Linked DNA regions of Homo sapiens: all the other regions are linked to region 5. The links are contacts of gene promoters, found by promoter capture Hi-C in blood cells and fetal thymus (Javierre and others, 2016). All regions are on one chromosome and are shown on one strand. Each heading gives the region's core, a stretch centred on a gene start or on the middle of the fragment in contact. The rest is flanking DNA. Distances are from core to core; before and after follow the strand shown. Region 1 overlaps EEF1G (eukaryotic translation elongation factor 1 gamma). Region 2 holds the start of TUT1 (terminal uridylyl transferase 1, U6 snRNA-specific). Region 3 has its middle 11 kb from the start of SCGB1A1. Region 4 has its middle 4.7 kb from the start of AHNAK. Region 5 holds the start of SNHG1 (small nucleolar RNA host gene 1).

Region 1 (2,700 bases), core at 179-2,678, 280 kb before region 5:
TCAGTCCAAGAGCTTTTATTTGGAAACCAGTGACTTGTCATTCTTTTTTGACCCAATAACCTTGACAGTGATTATTACTACCCTGATTTTATAGATTGCAAAGAGTAAAAAACAGGACTAAAGGAATTCACCCGCATATAACCCCTTACCTACATTGGTAAACAATGAAGCCAAGGCTTGAACCTGTATCTGTCTCCAAAAGAGCTTAAAGAGCTTTTTTTTTTTTTTTGAGATGGAGTCTCGCTCTTGTCCCCCAGGCTGGAGCACAGTAGCTGGATCTTGGCTCACTGCTACCTCCACCTCCTGGGTTCAAGCCATTCTCCTGCCTCAGCCTCCCAAGTAGCTGGGATTACAGGCTCCTACCACCACGCCCGGCTAATTTTCGTATTTTTAATAGAGACAGGGTTTCGCCATGCTGGCCAGGATGGTCTCGAACTCCTGACCTCAAGTGATCCACCCGCCTAGGCCTCCCAAAGTGCTGGGATTATAGGTGTTAGACACAGTGCCTGGCCTGCCTCCAAAAAGATCTTAATGCTGAAGCTACCATCATCACCTCTGTCTTCACAACTAAGAATAACCAATCTTCCCAGGAAATATGGCAACAAACTAAACATCTTAGCTGCCAAACAGAAACTAAAGGCAAGACATTACCCAGCTTCTTAAGAGAATGGAAAGCAAGTGATGGTACTCAGTCCTGGGATTCCTGGCTGTTTTTTGTTTGTTTTGACACGAAGTCTCACTCTCACCCAGGCTGGAGTGCAGTGGGGCGATCGCTGCTCACTGCAACCTCCACCTCCCAGATTCAAGTGATTCTTGTGCCTCAGCCTCCCAAGTAGCTGGGGCTATAGGTGTGCGCCACCACACCTGGCTAATTTTTTGTATTTTTAGTAGAGACAGGGTTTTACCATGTTGGCCAGGCTGGTCTCAAACTCCTGACCTCAGGTGATCTGCCTACCTCGGCCCCCCAGTGTGCTCGGATTACAGGCATGAGCCACTGCACCCACCTCTAGCTGTTTTCCAAGTCCTCAGCAGAATACAGGGTAACCTAGATACCTCGTCACTTTGTTTCTAATCCCCATCTACCCACTGCCAAATGGATTTTCCATAAACTTCACCTGCTTATAGAGCCACAACAGGGTGCAGACAACTGTGATGTCAGCCAATGTCACTCGTTCGCCCACCAGAAAAGTCCTCGTCTTCAAGTAAGCATCCAGCAGCCCCAGAATTCGCCTCACTTCCTCCTTTGCATTCTCAGTGGCCTAGTGATTCAACATGATAAAACTCATCAGTGGGTACCAATCCCTTTCCCTCACCTCCCCCATTAATAGAACTAAGAGGGCTATTTTCACCTAGAAGTCTGAGCTCACCCTCACTCTCTTTCAATGGAGGCAGATCCTAGGGTCATTCTAAATGTATTACAAACAATGAACTTCAGAGGTCCTCTGGTCCAGCCACCCCCTTACCATTTGGTATAATCTCTTCACAGCAGCAATCCCTCTTCTGATCACTCATGACAGACACTTCCTCCATCAACTGCCCACTGCTTCAAACTCGTACCCTAGAGATTACGTCTTCTCATTGCCTACATATCCTTGGCATCTTTTTTTCAACCTATTTTATTTCTTACTCCCAACACCCAGGAGCTGATGCCACCCCTGCCCCTGGCTTCTCTCAAAGTTCCAAGGCTCACCTGTTTGTTGTGGTGCATGATGCCCAAGGTGGGGAACACCCAGGTACTGGCTGGGGGCACTATATCGGAATCAGCAAAGCTCACCCACTGCACCACCTGGGCTGCTGCCTCTGGAGTACTTCCCCGCAGCTCCTCATTGCTCACTGCAGAGGCAGAACACGAAGGTCAGAACTCTGGGGGAATGCCAACACCAGTCCAGGTCCTGGAGAATTCCTTCATATCCACCCCCGCTCACACTTATCCTCTCCTACACCCTCACCTCCAAATTCTCCCATTCCCATATACCCCTGCAAATTACCATAGTAGGCAATGGCGTTGCTCTCAAACACACAGAATCCATCATCACCCTCAAATGCTGGGACCTGGGGACAAAGCAGTGAAAAGATAAGGTAAAACACACAAAATTTCTTCCTAACCAATACCAGGAGCCAAACTGCTTTGAAAATACTTATATAAGGCTGATGATTCTCACTATCCAAACTCTTGATACTCAAGAACCATAAATAAATACTTCAAGAACTTGGCCTCCTTTGCAATCTGAATTCACAATGTTAACTAGGAAGCCCAATAGATTTGAATATTACAGGATATTTGTATGAAATCTCTGGATCAAACAAGCAGAAGGCCAAAAGCAACTCCTGTATCAATGTCTGTATCAGTTAAAGTATTAGTGTGTGACCCAGACCCACACAGCACTTCATCTCCTCCATTCTTAGCATGTTTCTTCACCTATCTCTATAAACCCCTTGGGGTAAGAATTCTGCTCATAACAGATATCTGATATATTTGCACTGAAAATGCTTAGTCAAAACTCATTCTCTTTCCCACAAAGTAAACTCGTGAATTTTATAAAGTCACAGAATAGCTCTGTATTTTTTTTCACAACTACATGTAAATCTGTATTTATCTCAAAATAAAATCACCGAAATTGAATAAAACAACATGGGAAGCTCCCTTTTAGAGATGGGGGCCACCACCAGAGTGACAGAATCGCAGGGCCTTGGTTTCTC
Region 2 (2,872 bases), core at 297-2,796, 260 kb before region 5:
ATATCACTTGGCAGAGAGAGTCTGGTACACGGTAAATGTTGAAAAACTAACCGTTGCTATTATTTTATTGAGTTAGCTGCTTGATGTCACCAAAGTAAATGTGGGGCCAAAGAAGACTCCTAGGTTTCTGGCTTGGCTTACTGGATGAACAGTGATAGTGCCATTCACAGTGAAAAGGAAGAATGGAAGTAAACCCTGTTTAGGGAACACTGTGATTCCAGACTTCAAAAGTAGGGCTGGGCACATTGGCTCACGCCTGTAATCCCAGCACTTTGGGAGGCCAAGATGGGAAGATCGCTTGAGGCCAGGAATTGGAGACCAGCCTAGGCAACATGGTGAAAACCCATCTCTACAAAAAACTAAAAAATTTGCCAAGTAGGCCGGGCGCGGTGGCTCAGGCCTGTAATCCCGGCACTTTGGGAGGCCGAGGCGGGCGGGTCACGAGGTCAGGAGATCGAGACCATCCTGACTAACATGGTGAAACCTCGTCTCTACTAAAAAATACAAAAAATTAGCCGGGCGTGGTGGCGGGTGCCTGTAGTCCCGGCTACACGGGAGGCTGAGGCAGGAGAATGGGGTGAACCCAGGAGGTGGAGCTTGCAGTGAGCCAAGATCGTGCCACTGCACTCCAGCCTGGGTGACAGAGTGAGACTCTGTCTCAAAAAAAAAAAAAAAAGAAAAAAGAAATTAGCCAAGTATGGTGGTGCACACCTGTAGACTCAACTACTTGGGAGGCTAGCCAGGGGTATGGTTTGAGCCCGGGAGGTTGAGGCTGCAGTGAGCCAAGATCACACCACCGCACTGCAGCCTGGGTGACAGAGCAAGACCTTGTCTCAAAAAAAAAAAAAAAGTGGAATTTGAAGTTACAGTGAACCCCTTGTGTGTCATACAAGAACCTTGTCTATTTTTCCAAACCCATCTTCTGTCTCTTCCTCACTGGTACCTTATGGTCTAGTCATTCATGCCACACCTATTTCATCCATCCCCTCCTTTGAGTAGGTCCTCTGTAGGGCTTCTCTGATTTAGTTACTAATTCTCTGTGGTCCCACAGTTCTCCGAACATATCTATAAAGCATTGAAACTTTCTCATTCTCTAGACGGTGAGCTCCTTCATCTCTGAACCCCCCTCCCCCACCCTAAAGATCAGCAGAATACCAGGCACAGAGCATATGTCCAATAGATGATGGTTAAAGAAGTAATAAAACAATTAAACTTGCGTTGTGGAGATTTCATATACTGAGGAGTGTAATGTGGTGGAACTTTCCCGACTCTCCAAATCCCCTCGGACTTGCAGAGAAAAACGGAGGTGAGAGACCCTACCAATCAACTTGACAAGAACGACTGACTACCTATAACCCTAACTTTCGCCAGGATCAAAAGACGAAAGCCCGCAACCACCCCCGGGTCCCTCACTAGCCACCGCTTACGGTTGGCTGTAGTAACGTGGCAGAGGCAGCAGCGGAACCCCCCACGCGGCAGCGATTCGACATCCGAATCCACCGCCGCCATAGCGACTCTCCTGTACCGACAAAAACACAAGCACCTCTGCCACCACCGGAACCCACTTCGCCAAAGCTCAACGCGCTCGGAAGCAACTTCCGCCGATCCGATAGGAAGTGACATAAAGTCGTTCAATTGCGCGGACACACTCCTCCGGAAACCAAGCTCCTTCGACTCTGGGTTCCGTTTCTAGCCGCTGTCCAGTCCCCGCCCGTTTCAGGAAAAGCGGCGCGTTACGATGCTTATCTGCATGCGGTAAGCCGATTGGTGTGCTTTAAGCTGTTCAGACGTTGATTGGCCCAAAGCATCGTGAATATTCATGACAGCAGCCACAAAGGCCGGCGCCGGGTGGCATCTTGCGGCAGCTCCTTCACCCCGCAGTAGACACCCGTGCGTCTGTACCCTCGACCCTTATTTACCCGACGAATAAAGGCGGAGGATCGGCGGCTTCCAATTCTTTGCCCCACGGAGCCCAGGGCTGTCCCTGGACTTCCAACCTTTTCAGGGCTGTTACTCCCTCCCTCCGCCCCCTGTCCTCCCGCAAAACGGGTGTTCTGCGACGGCTTCTAGCCCTGGTTGGGGAGCTCTGCCACCACCGGGCACCTTCCGGACTCCACGAGGTCCTGGAGCCAGGCCCATTCCTTCCGCAGTAGTGGGCTGCGTGGTGTACGCCGGAGGCGCCAGAGCTACTGGCGCACCTCAGAGCAGTGCGACAAGACAAAACCGAGTGCCAGTAACTGAGTTTAGACACTGGAGGGGGCGAATGCTGTCAACCCCCTCCTGGTATAATTGTCAGTTCATCCCAACGCCGCCGAGGTGTAGGCTCAGGACAGGGAGGGACTACGGGGAGCTGGGGATGCCCTAGGGACAGGGACCATAACGAGGTGGAGAGAACTATCAGATGGGCTCAGCAGCTTGTGCTGTGGTTATCAGCCCACAGCTTTGAATGGCGCAAAGAGCAGTGGACCTAAGGCAGACACCAAGGTCTTTGACCTTGAACAAGTCACAACTGTTGAGGCCGTTTCCCATCTCTAAAGGAAGTGCCCAAGGAGCACACAGCAGGCTGAACTTCTTGTTCTCTATCCTAAGGTGTTCCTTCTAATGGGCCCAGCTCAGGCATCTAATCTCAGTGTCCCAAACCTTTAAGGCAGGAAACAGTGCTACAGTGGATCGGGATATCATCGAGACTGGCCTTGAGGATCCTGAAGCAGCAGGCTGTACACATACACCCAGAGGTGCTAGGGTGGTTCAGTGGTAGAATTCTCGTCTGCCAAATACACCACACAGCTAGGTGAGGGGATCCTCCTATAACCCCACCACCACCCCCAAGGGGGTATACATGTTACCCTGGCTGCTAGCAACTTCCAGAATT
Region 3 (2,700 bases), core at 133-2,632, 430 kb before region 5:
CAGCTGATCCATCGAATGCAGGGTCTGCAAACTATCTCAAGCACTGATCTTAGGTTTTACAATAGTGATGTTATCTGCAGGAGCAATCTGGGGAGGCTCAGACTCTTGGAGCCAGAGGCTGCATGACCGCTAAACTAAATTTCTAATCTTGTAGCTAATTTGTTAGTCTTGCAAAGGCAGACTGGTCCACAGGCAAGAATGGGGTTTTTTTTAGGGAAATGGCTATTATCAATTTTGTTTCAGAGTCAAAACATGAACTGAATTCCTTCCCAAAGTTAGTTCAGGCCTATGCCCAGGAATGAACAAGGACAGCTTAAAGGTTAGAAGGAAGATGGAGTCGGTTAGGTCTGATCTCTTTCACTGTCATAATTTCCTCAGTTGTAATTTTTGCAAAGGCGGTTTCACAGCCACCCTGTGTGTGTAACCACGAGGCAGATACCTACAGAGCTTCCTTTAGAGTTCCCTCTTAGGGCTGGGTGCAGTGGCTCAAGCCACTGTGGGAGGCTGAGGCAGGCGGATCACCTGAGGTCAGGAGTTCGAGACCAGCCTGGCCAACATGGCAAAACCCCATCTCTACTAGTAATACAAAAATTACCCGGGCATGATGGCGCATGCCTGTAGTCCCCGCTACAGCTGAGGCAAGAGAATCACTTGAACCCAGGAGGCAGAAGTTGCAGTGGCAGAGGTTGCAGAGGCGGAAGTTGTAGTGAGCCGAGGTTGCAGTAAGCCGAGATCACACCACTGCACTCCAGCCTGGGTGACAGAATGAGACTCCATCTCAAAAATAAAAATGAAAAAGAATTCCCTGTTAGGCCCCTGTCACAAAAGTAGGTACTAATCAGCCCTGGGACAGGATAGAGACTTGATCAGAGGCTCCCTGGGAGCTGTGGAAGGAGGAGCAGGCCTTGGGGCATCAGGAGAGGAGAAAGGGTTGCTGGGCTGGGGGATCTCCTGACCTCCTGACCTTAGGCGTCCAGTCGGTCTCTGAGTCCATCTCAACTTACATGGAATTGATCCCTTTATTTTTTTTTATTTATTTATTTTTGAGATAGGGTCTCACTCTGTCACCCAGGCTGGAGTGCAAGGTTGCAATCACTGCTCACTGCAACCTCCGCCTCCCAGGCTCAAGCAATCCTCCTCCCTCAGCCTCCTGAGTAGCTGGGATGACAGGCGCACACCACCATGCCCAGCTAATTTTTGTATTTTTTTTCATAGATACGGGTTTTCGCCATGTTGGCCAGGCTGGTCTCAAACTCCTGGACTCAAATGATCTGCCAGCCTCTGCCTCCCAAAGTGTTGGGATTACAGGCGTGAGCCACCGTGCCCAGCCCTTATCCCCTTCTCTTGACCCTATTGCCAATTCCAAGCCTTCACCATCTGTGACCTGGATCATTGCAAACAGCCTCTACATTAGTTTCTATGGCTGCTGTAACAACTTACCACAGACTTAATAACTTAAAAACACACAAATTTATGATCTTCTCGTTCTGGAGGCCAGATGTCTGAAATGCATTTCACTGGGCTAAAAACCAAGGTGTTGGCAGGCTGCATTCTTTCTGGAGTCTCCAGGGGAGAATCTGTCTCCTTGTTTTTTCCATTTTCTAAAGGCCACCCGCATTACTTGGCTCATGGCCCCTTCCCCATCTTCAAAGTCAGCAGGGCAGCCTCTGCAATTCTCTCTCCGACACTGATCTCCTCTTCTGCCTCCCACTTCCATTCATAAGGATCTCTGTGATTACACTGGGCCCATCAGATACTCCAAAACAACCTCCCCTCTCACGGTCAGCTGATGAGAAACCTTCATCCATGTGCAACCCTAATTCTCTCTTGCCAGGTAACCTAACACATGCACAGGGTCTGGGGATTAGGACGTGGAGATCCTTGAGGGGCCGTTAATCTGCCTCCTAAATAGTCTCTAAGATTTTAGTCTTACTTCCTTCCCATGATTGCCAAAAATCAAACAGGAAGTTCATGCTTTTGCTTAAAATCCTTCCCTCTTCCTGGTCCCCTGTTGGATAAAGTCCAAACCCCTCACCCATCATCAAAGGCTCCTGGAGATGGTGGCCCTGCTTCCCACTGTGGCCTCAAATCCTGCTGCTTCCCACCTACCCTTCACTTTGAGGGTGCAGCAGTGGATGATGCTCGGAAATAAAACTGCCCTCTGAGTAAGGCTTGTCGATTCATGTCGAGGCACAGACGTTCACATTTGAAACAGGCAACAAATCCATGCCATTCACACTTCCACACTTTTGCAGAAACAGTTCCCGCTAACTGAAATGCTTTCCCTTCCCAAAGTCCCTGGAAGAACCAAACTCCATCCTTCATGACTCACTTGGGACATGCTTATACTAAAAATTGTTTCATTATTTATCTAAAATGCACACTTAACGGGCATACTGTATTTCATTTGCTAAGTCTGGCCCCCTTCAGATTCTTTCACGACTTAGTCTGTGGGCTCTTTCTCCCTGTTCTCCCTACCCAGCACTTTGTGCCCTGAGGTTCAGGGGCTCTTTCTGCTGCTGAGCTTCCACGCCCCTAATCTGGGGCATGTATTTACAGTGGGATAAATCATGTATTTATCTTACTATAGCATGTTTGCTTCTAACTGTTGCCTTCTCTAGAATGTGAGTCCTATGAAGGCATGATTCACATTTTAGTTATCTTGCCACTCATTGTAGAAAAATTAGAAAACCCAAGAAA
Region 4 (2,700 bases), core at 190-2,689, 300 kb before region 5:
CCACTTCAGCCTCCCAAAGCGCTGGGATTACAGGTGTGAGCCACTTTGTCAGGAGCTACTTTCATCTGTCAGCTCATTTAATCCTTGCACACCCTGGGAGGGAGGCACTTAGTGAGGAATGGTCTCAGAAAGGGTTCGTGATTTACCTAAAATCACACAACTCACAGAGGCAAGAGTCAAAGCTTCCGCTAGCATTTAAGCCTCATGAGGACAGGGTTCTTTCTTCTCTGCTGTATGCTTTGTGCCTAGATTAACTGATTTTTTGTTTTGTTTTGGTTTTTTGCTTGTTTTTTTTTGAGACAGTCTCACTCTGTCGCCCAGGATGGAGTGCAGTGGAGCATTCATGGCTCACTGCAGCCTCAACCTCTCAAGCTCAAGTGATCCTCCCACCTTAGTCTCCCAAGTAGCTGGGACTACAGACACACACCATCATGCTCAGCTAATTTTTTTTTTTTTTTTTGGTAGAGATAGGGTCTCACTATGTTGCCCAGGCTGGTCTTGAACTCCTGGGCTTGAGCAATCCTCCCACCTCAGCCTCCCAAAGTGCTGGGATTATAGGTGTGAGCCACCGCACCCTGGCCCCTCATGCCTAGAGCACTGACTGACACATAGCAATCACTCAAGAGCATGTTTCAAATGAATGAATGAACTCCAGGTATAACTGGCTCCAAAGCCCTTGCCTTTTCTACAATAGATAGCATCCTGCATCCCAGGCTGTCACAACTTCCTCTGGCTCTCAGCCCCCAGGGAGCAATTCCTCTACTTGTGGGTCTTTCTTGCAGCTACCCAAACATTTATTGTGTGTCCAATATGGGGTTGGGGAACTGTGGTGGTGGTGGAAGCAATAGAGACCTTGGCAAGATGGAATCCCAGCAAAAAGCTCAGTCCAGGCGGAAACGGCTCCGATACCCCTTTACCTTGTCCTTTGAATTCCTTGGAGGTCCTATGCCTCCAGAGAATTGGAGTTATCTTTCCTACCAGGTAATTTACACAGCTACTCCCCCGCCAGCACCCCCCCGACACACTATGTTTTGGGTGTTTTTGTTGTTTTGTTGTTGTGGTGGTGGTGGTGGTGGTTGTTTTGAGATGGAGTCTAGCTCTGTCGCCCAGGCTGGAGTGCAGTGACACGATCTTGGCTCATCTTGGCTCACTGCAACCTCTGCCTCCTGGGTTCAAACGATTCTCCTGCCTCAGCCTCCCAAGTAGCTGGGATTATAGGCACGCGCCACCACGCCTGGCTAATTTTTGTATTTTTAGTAGAGACGGAGTTTCACCATGCTAGCCAGGCTGGTCTCGAACTCCTGACCTCATGATCCGCTTGCCTCAGCCTCCCAAAGTGCTGGGATTACAAGCGTGAGCCACCACACCTGGCCTGTTTTTTGTTTGTTTTTACACACCATGTTTTATAAGGAGTATTAAGGAGTTCTTTCGGTCCCTACTTTGCAAAGAAAACCTCCATCTTCTCGAAGGTTTAGACTCCTCTGTGATATAAAGTAAAGGCTTTCCTCTTATAAGAGGGAGGTCAGCCCTGCCGCTAGTGCTCCACCACCATTCAGAGGGAGCTGGTACCACAGTGCTCCACACGCACTGCCAAAGCTGGATGAGCTCTAGGACTTGTCATCACAGGGATACCCCAGCTTCCCCAGAAGTGACACTGCCTCCCTGGGGAGTGGGGGAGGTTCCCTGATATGTACCTGTTTTGCGTGTGTGTGTATATGTCAGTTTGTGTGTGTGTGCGCGCGTCTGTAATGAACCTTGGGCTCTTCTGTTGCCAGGCAACCTGCCTCTATTTTGTTCCTATTATGCCTGTTTCCATAGTAACCACAAAGGGGAGCTCTGTGGGCAGGCCCCTGGCCAGGGGATTCCCCTTCCCCTCCCTTCTCTCCACAGTCCCCTTTTCTGAAATCAGCATGTTACAAGGAAGAAAAGAGGTTGACTGCTCAAAGGGTAATCTCAGTTTCTGATCCCAGAAGGCAAATGAAGTGTGTGGTCTGTTTGCAGTCTCTTTAGAAGCAGACTTTTCCCCCCATGAAGGTTCTTTTGCATGATATTCTTAGAAGCAGAAAAATGGGCTGTGCCTGGTGGCTCACGCCTGTAATCCCAGCACTTTGGGAGGCCAAGGCGGGTGGATCACTTGAGGTCAGCAGCTCGAGACCAGCCTGACCAACCTGGTGAAACCCCGTCTCTACAAAAAATACAAAATTAGCCGGACGTGGTGGTGCACGCCTGTAATCCCAGCTACTCGGGAGGCTGAGGCAGAAGAATTGCTTGAACCTGAGAGGCGGAGGTTACAGTGAGCCGAGATTGCGCCATTGCACTCCAGCATGGGCAAGAAGAGCAAAACTCTGTCTCAAAAAAAAAAAAAAAAAAAGCAGCAGCAGCAGCAAAGAAATGACTGTTAACCCTTCTTAGCACCATCTGGGATCTCCCAGACCCCGCCTCCACCCCATACACACACCAGCCCAGGGATTAGCATCCCTGCCAAACAGGCCCTTCTCCATTCACTTCCGTCACTTCCTAATCTGTCATTGTCCACCCCACCCCCCAAAAGCAAATCTATCTGGTGATTCTGGAATCCAAACATTATTTCCTAAGCAATTCTCAAGCCCCAAACCCTTAACCCTAGCCGAAAATATAAAGCCAAGTAAAATCATCCTTCCCCAGCTCAATTCAAATCCCAGCCTGTATTTAAACTTCAAG
Region 5 (2,755 bases), core at 135-2,634:
ATTCGAAAAACAACTTACTGTAAGATAGAGGCAGACTGTCATCAGGAATACCTGGAAAGGAAAGCAAATTAGTTATTTTAAGGTATTAGGATGGAATGAAGCTTATTCATAAACAACAACTGCCATCAGAACTCTAACATGCTATTAACTTTTGTACCTCACAGAACATCAGCTTATCAATTCAAATCATCTGACAGTAACGTGATCGATATATGGATGAGGGTAACAGCACACCCTTACAAGAACTGTAGTACCGGGTTGCGATCTCCCTCCCCAGAAAATCATTTCAAGAGGAACAAGATGGAAGGCGCCAAAAAACATTGTTCCGCCGGCCACTTGTTTTCTTGAACATTTACAAAGATGACATACACCAATTTGGATAATTACCTGTATTCACCCTGGGAGGCAGCTGAATTCCCCAGGATAGATTATGAGATGCTGTAGACAACAGAGGAAAGCATTTTATGTACCTAAAAATAGTCATTCAAAGACCCCTTAAGACCTCTCTCTCACTTCTCAGTAGTAAGATGACATCACTTGAAAGTTCAGCCATATGCTTGTCATTTTGTGTTCATCATGGAGTGGTTATCTACAAGGTCTCCTCTGTAAGAGCATAAACCATGTACACCTACCTGGAACATTACTGTAACGCTGGCTTTGCATAAAGATGGGTCTTGTCCCATTCCTTCACCAGTAAGCTCTTGTGGGCTGAACATCTGAAAAAATAACACCCTTCACTAACACCTCAGACAAATCAATAGGGCCCTGACATTTGTTGCGTACAGTACAGTGCTACTCAGAATTTTCTGTTTTCTCCACTAATCCATCAGAAAGAGAGAGTTCAGTTCGTAAAATCATCCCCGTAGCAACTTCCACACACTCAACGAAAGAGCAGAGATTAAGAAATGGCCGTAAGAACTTACTGCAACAACAGAGCTCTCTTCGGTTCCAACGTGCGCGTAAATCCTGCAGACAGGAGCCCAATAAGACATTAGGTCAACTCAGGGCATTTCGAAAACGCTATTTTCTGAACAGACGGCTAAGCAAGAGGCTTGCAGGGCCCATCTCCTCAGAGTTATTTATCCTCACGGAGCTCAGTACAGGTCTGTGAAAAGGTCCTCATCATAGGAAGGGGGACCTACACGGCCCGCCATCGCCATTTTGTCCTTCACAAAGCCCCACTGCTACTTTTAAGCCTCGAGGCCACGCACAAGACCTTATCCGCCAGTCGCCCTGGCCAGGCAGCTACAACACAGAAGGCATAGTGCGTGCTATGCTATGTTCGCACAATCGCTCAAAAGAAAATAAAAGAAAAAGACAAAGTACAAAAGAGTAACAGCTATAAAGACCACGAAGCCACTTACCACGAGCAGTAGAAAAATGAGAACGAATCTCCCCGGGGAGACGATTAAATACCATGCCGCAGAGGCCCACGGGATTTGGGGGCGGGGCTACGGCGAGCGCACGCGCATACGTTGACCGCATGCGACCCCGGGGAGTTGTGGGTAGAGAGTTCCAGGGAAGGAGGGCGTAGACAAAGCGCCACCTGAACTTGCGGCGCGAAAAAGGCGCGCATGCGTCCTACGGGAGCGTGCTGGCTCACCGACCGCATTGCGGCTTGGTTTTCTCACCCAGTGCATGTGGCAGGAGCGGTGAGATCACTGCCTCACGGCGATCCTGGACTGACGGTCACGACTGCCTACCCTCTAACCCTGTTCTGAGCTGCCCCTTGCCCACACACCCCAAACCTGTGTGCAGGATCCGCCTCCATGGAGCTACAGCCTCCTGAAGCCTCGATCGCCGTCGTGTCGATTCCGCGCCAGTTGCCTGGCTCACATTCGGAGGCTGGTGTCCAGGGTCTCAGCGCGGGGGACGACTCAGGTACTGGATCCCGGGCTAAGCTCGGGAGGAGGTCCCCTTTGGTGGGGCCATTTCGGGAAAGTATGTCAGGACGTAAGTGCTTCACTGAAGACAGGATCTGATTTTTTCCTAACTGGTTCCCTATGTCCTGCCTTCTGGTGCGTTTTCTTTAGATCTTGGACTACTACGGGCCAACATTAGCTAACATTTATGGAGCACCGTTTTAAGCACACTATATGAATCGATTAATCCACCAAAATCCCAAGAGCTAGGTAGGATGACAACCCCCATTTTATTGATGGGGAACCCTAAAGAGCTCCGGCGGTGCTGCCTGCTGCAACTCCTGCCTGATCAATATGGTTGCAGTCAGCTATAGACTGTTTTACTGAGACCGGACAACATTAGTTCAGTCGTTTGTGGTAAACATCTACGTGTACAAGCACACTTTATAAACATTTTTTTCTTTCTTTTTTTTTTTTTTTGAGACGGAGTTTCGCTCTTGTTGCCCAGGCTGGAATGCAATGGCCCGATCTCAGCTCACTGCATTCCACCTCCCGGGTTCAAGCAATTCTCCTGCCTCAGCCTCCTGAGTAGCTGGGATTACAGGCATGCGCCACTGTGACCGGCTAATTTTGTATTTTTAGTAGAGACAGGGTTTCTCCATGTTGGTCAGGCCGGTCTTGAACTCCTGACCTCGGGTGATCCGCCTGCCTCGGCCTCCCAAAGTGCTGGGATTACAGGCGTGAGCCACCGCGCCCGGCCAAACATTTTTTTCTTTCAAGACGGAGGCTTGCTCTGTCGCCCAGGCTGGAGTGCAGTGGCGGGATGTCTGTTCACTGCAACCTCCGCTTCCCAGGTTCAAGCGATTCTCCTTCCTCAGCCTCCTGAGTAGCTG

Evidence for each region. Contacts are between HindIII fragments. The CHiCAGO score rates a contact against its expected background, and 5 or more counts as called.
Region 1: a fragment that was not itself captured here is called in contact with the fragment with the promoter of SNHG1 in region 5 in 11 of 17 cell types (naive B cells, activated CD4 T cells, total B cells and 8 more); the score reaches 13.8 in naive B cells.
Region 2: a contact is called between the fragment with the promoter of TUT1 here and the fragment with the promoter of SNHG1 in region 5, in 14 of 17 cell types (naive B cells, total CD8 T cells, naive CD4 T cells and 11 more). The highest score is 14.5, in naive B cells.
Region 3: a fragment that was not itself captured here is called in contact with the fragment with the promoter of SNHG1 in region 5 in 6 of 17 cell types (naive B cells, total B cells, total CD8 T cells and 3 more); the score reaches 8.2 in naive B cells.
Region 4: a contact is called between a fragment that was not itself captured here and the fragment with the promoter of SNHG1 in region 5, in 7 of 17 cell types (activated CD4 T cells, naive B cells, total CD8 T cells and 4 more). The highest score is 7.7, in activated CD4 T cells.

Annotation. Positions count from the first base shown.
Region 1 is chr11:62,569,850-62,572,549 of GRCh38, forward strand. EEF1G (eukaryotic translation elongation factor 1 gamma) reads right to left here. Exons shown (of 10, transcript NM_001404.5): 3 at 1,989-2,052; 4 at 1,691-1,833; 5 at 1,116-1,259. Among named protein-coding and RNA genes, the nearest start is that of EEF1G, 2.7 kb to the right of the region's middle. The HindIII fragment of the contact is 3,344 bases long and covers 1-2,700 here.
Region 2 is chr11:62,589,977-62,592,848 of GRCh38, forward strand. TUT1 (terminal uridylyl transferase 1, U6 snRNA-specific) reads right to left here and starts at 1,547. Exons shown (of 9, transcript NM_022830.3): 1 at 1,428-1,547. The coding sequence starts at 1,509. RefSeq lists enhancers at 1,357-2,052, 1,469-1,698. The HindIII fragment of the contact is 7,198 bases long and covers 1-2,872 here.
Region 3 is chr11:62,429,052-62,431,751 of GRCh38, forward strand. No RefSeq gene overlaps it. Among named protein-coding and RNA genes, the nearest start is that of SCGB1A1, 11 kb to the left of the region's middle. The HindIII fragment of the contact is 7,397 bases long and covers 1-2,700 here.
Region 4 is chr11:62,550,167-62,552,866 of GRCh38, forward strand. No RefSeq gene overlaps it. Among named protein-coding and RNA genes, the nearest start is that of AHNAK, 4.7 kb to the left of the region's middle. RefSeq lists enhancers at 1,005-1,810, 1,811-2,616. The HindIII fragment of the contact is 2,518 bases long and covers 181-2,698 here.
Region 5 is chr11:62,854,501-62,857,255 of GRCh38, forward strand. SNHG1 (small nucleolar RNA host gene 1) reads right to left here and starts at 1,385. Exons shown (of 9, transcript NR_152585.1): 1 at 924-1,385; 2 at 633-716; 3 at 19-51. It overlaps SNORD28 (small nucleolar RNA, C/D box 28), which reads right to left and starts at 195; the gene lies at 121-195. It overlaps SNORD27 (small nucleolar RNA, C/D box 27), which reads right to left and starts at 583; the gene lies at 512-583. It overlaps SNORD26 (small nucleolar RNA, C/D box 26), which reads right to left and starts at 866; the gene lies at 792-866. It also overlaps SNORD25 and a transcript of SLC3A2 not described here. RefSeq lists enhancers at 1-491, 1,129-1,208, 1,319-1,498, 1,467-2,440, 2,441-2,755 and a silencer at 1,559-1,618. The HindIII fragment of the contact is 3,291 bases long and covers 100-2,755 here.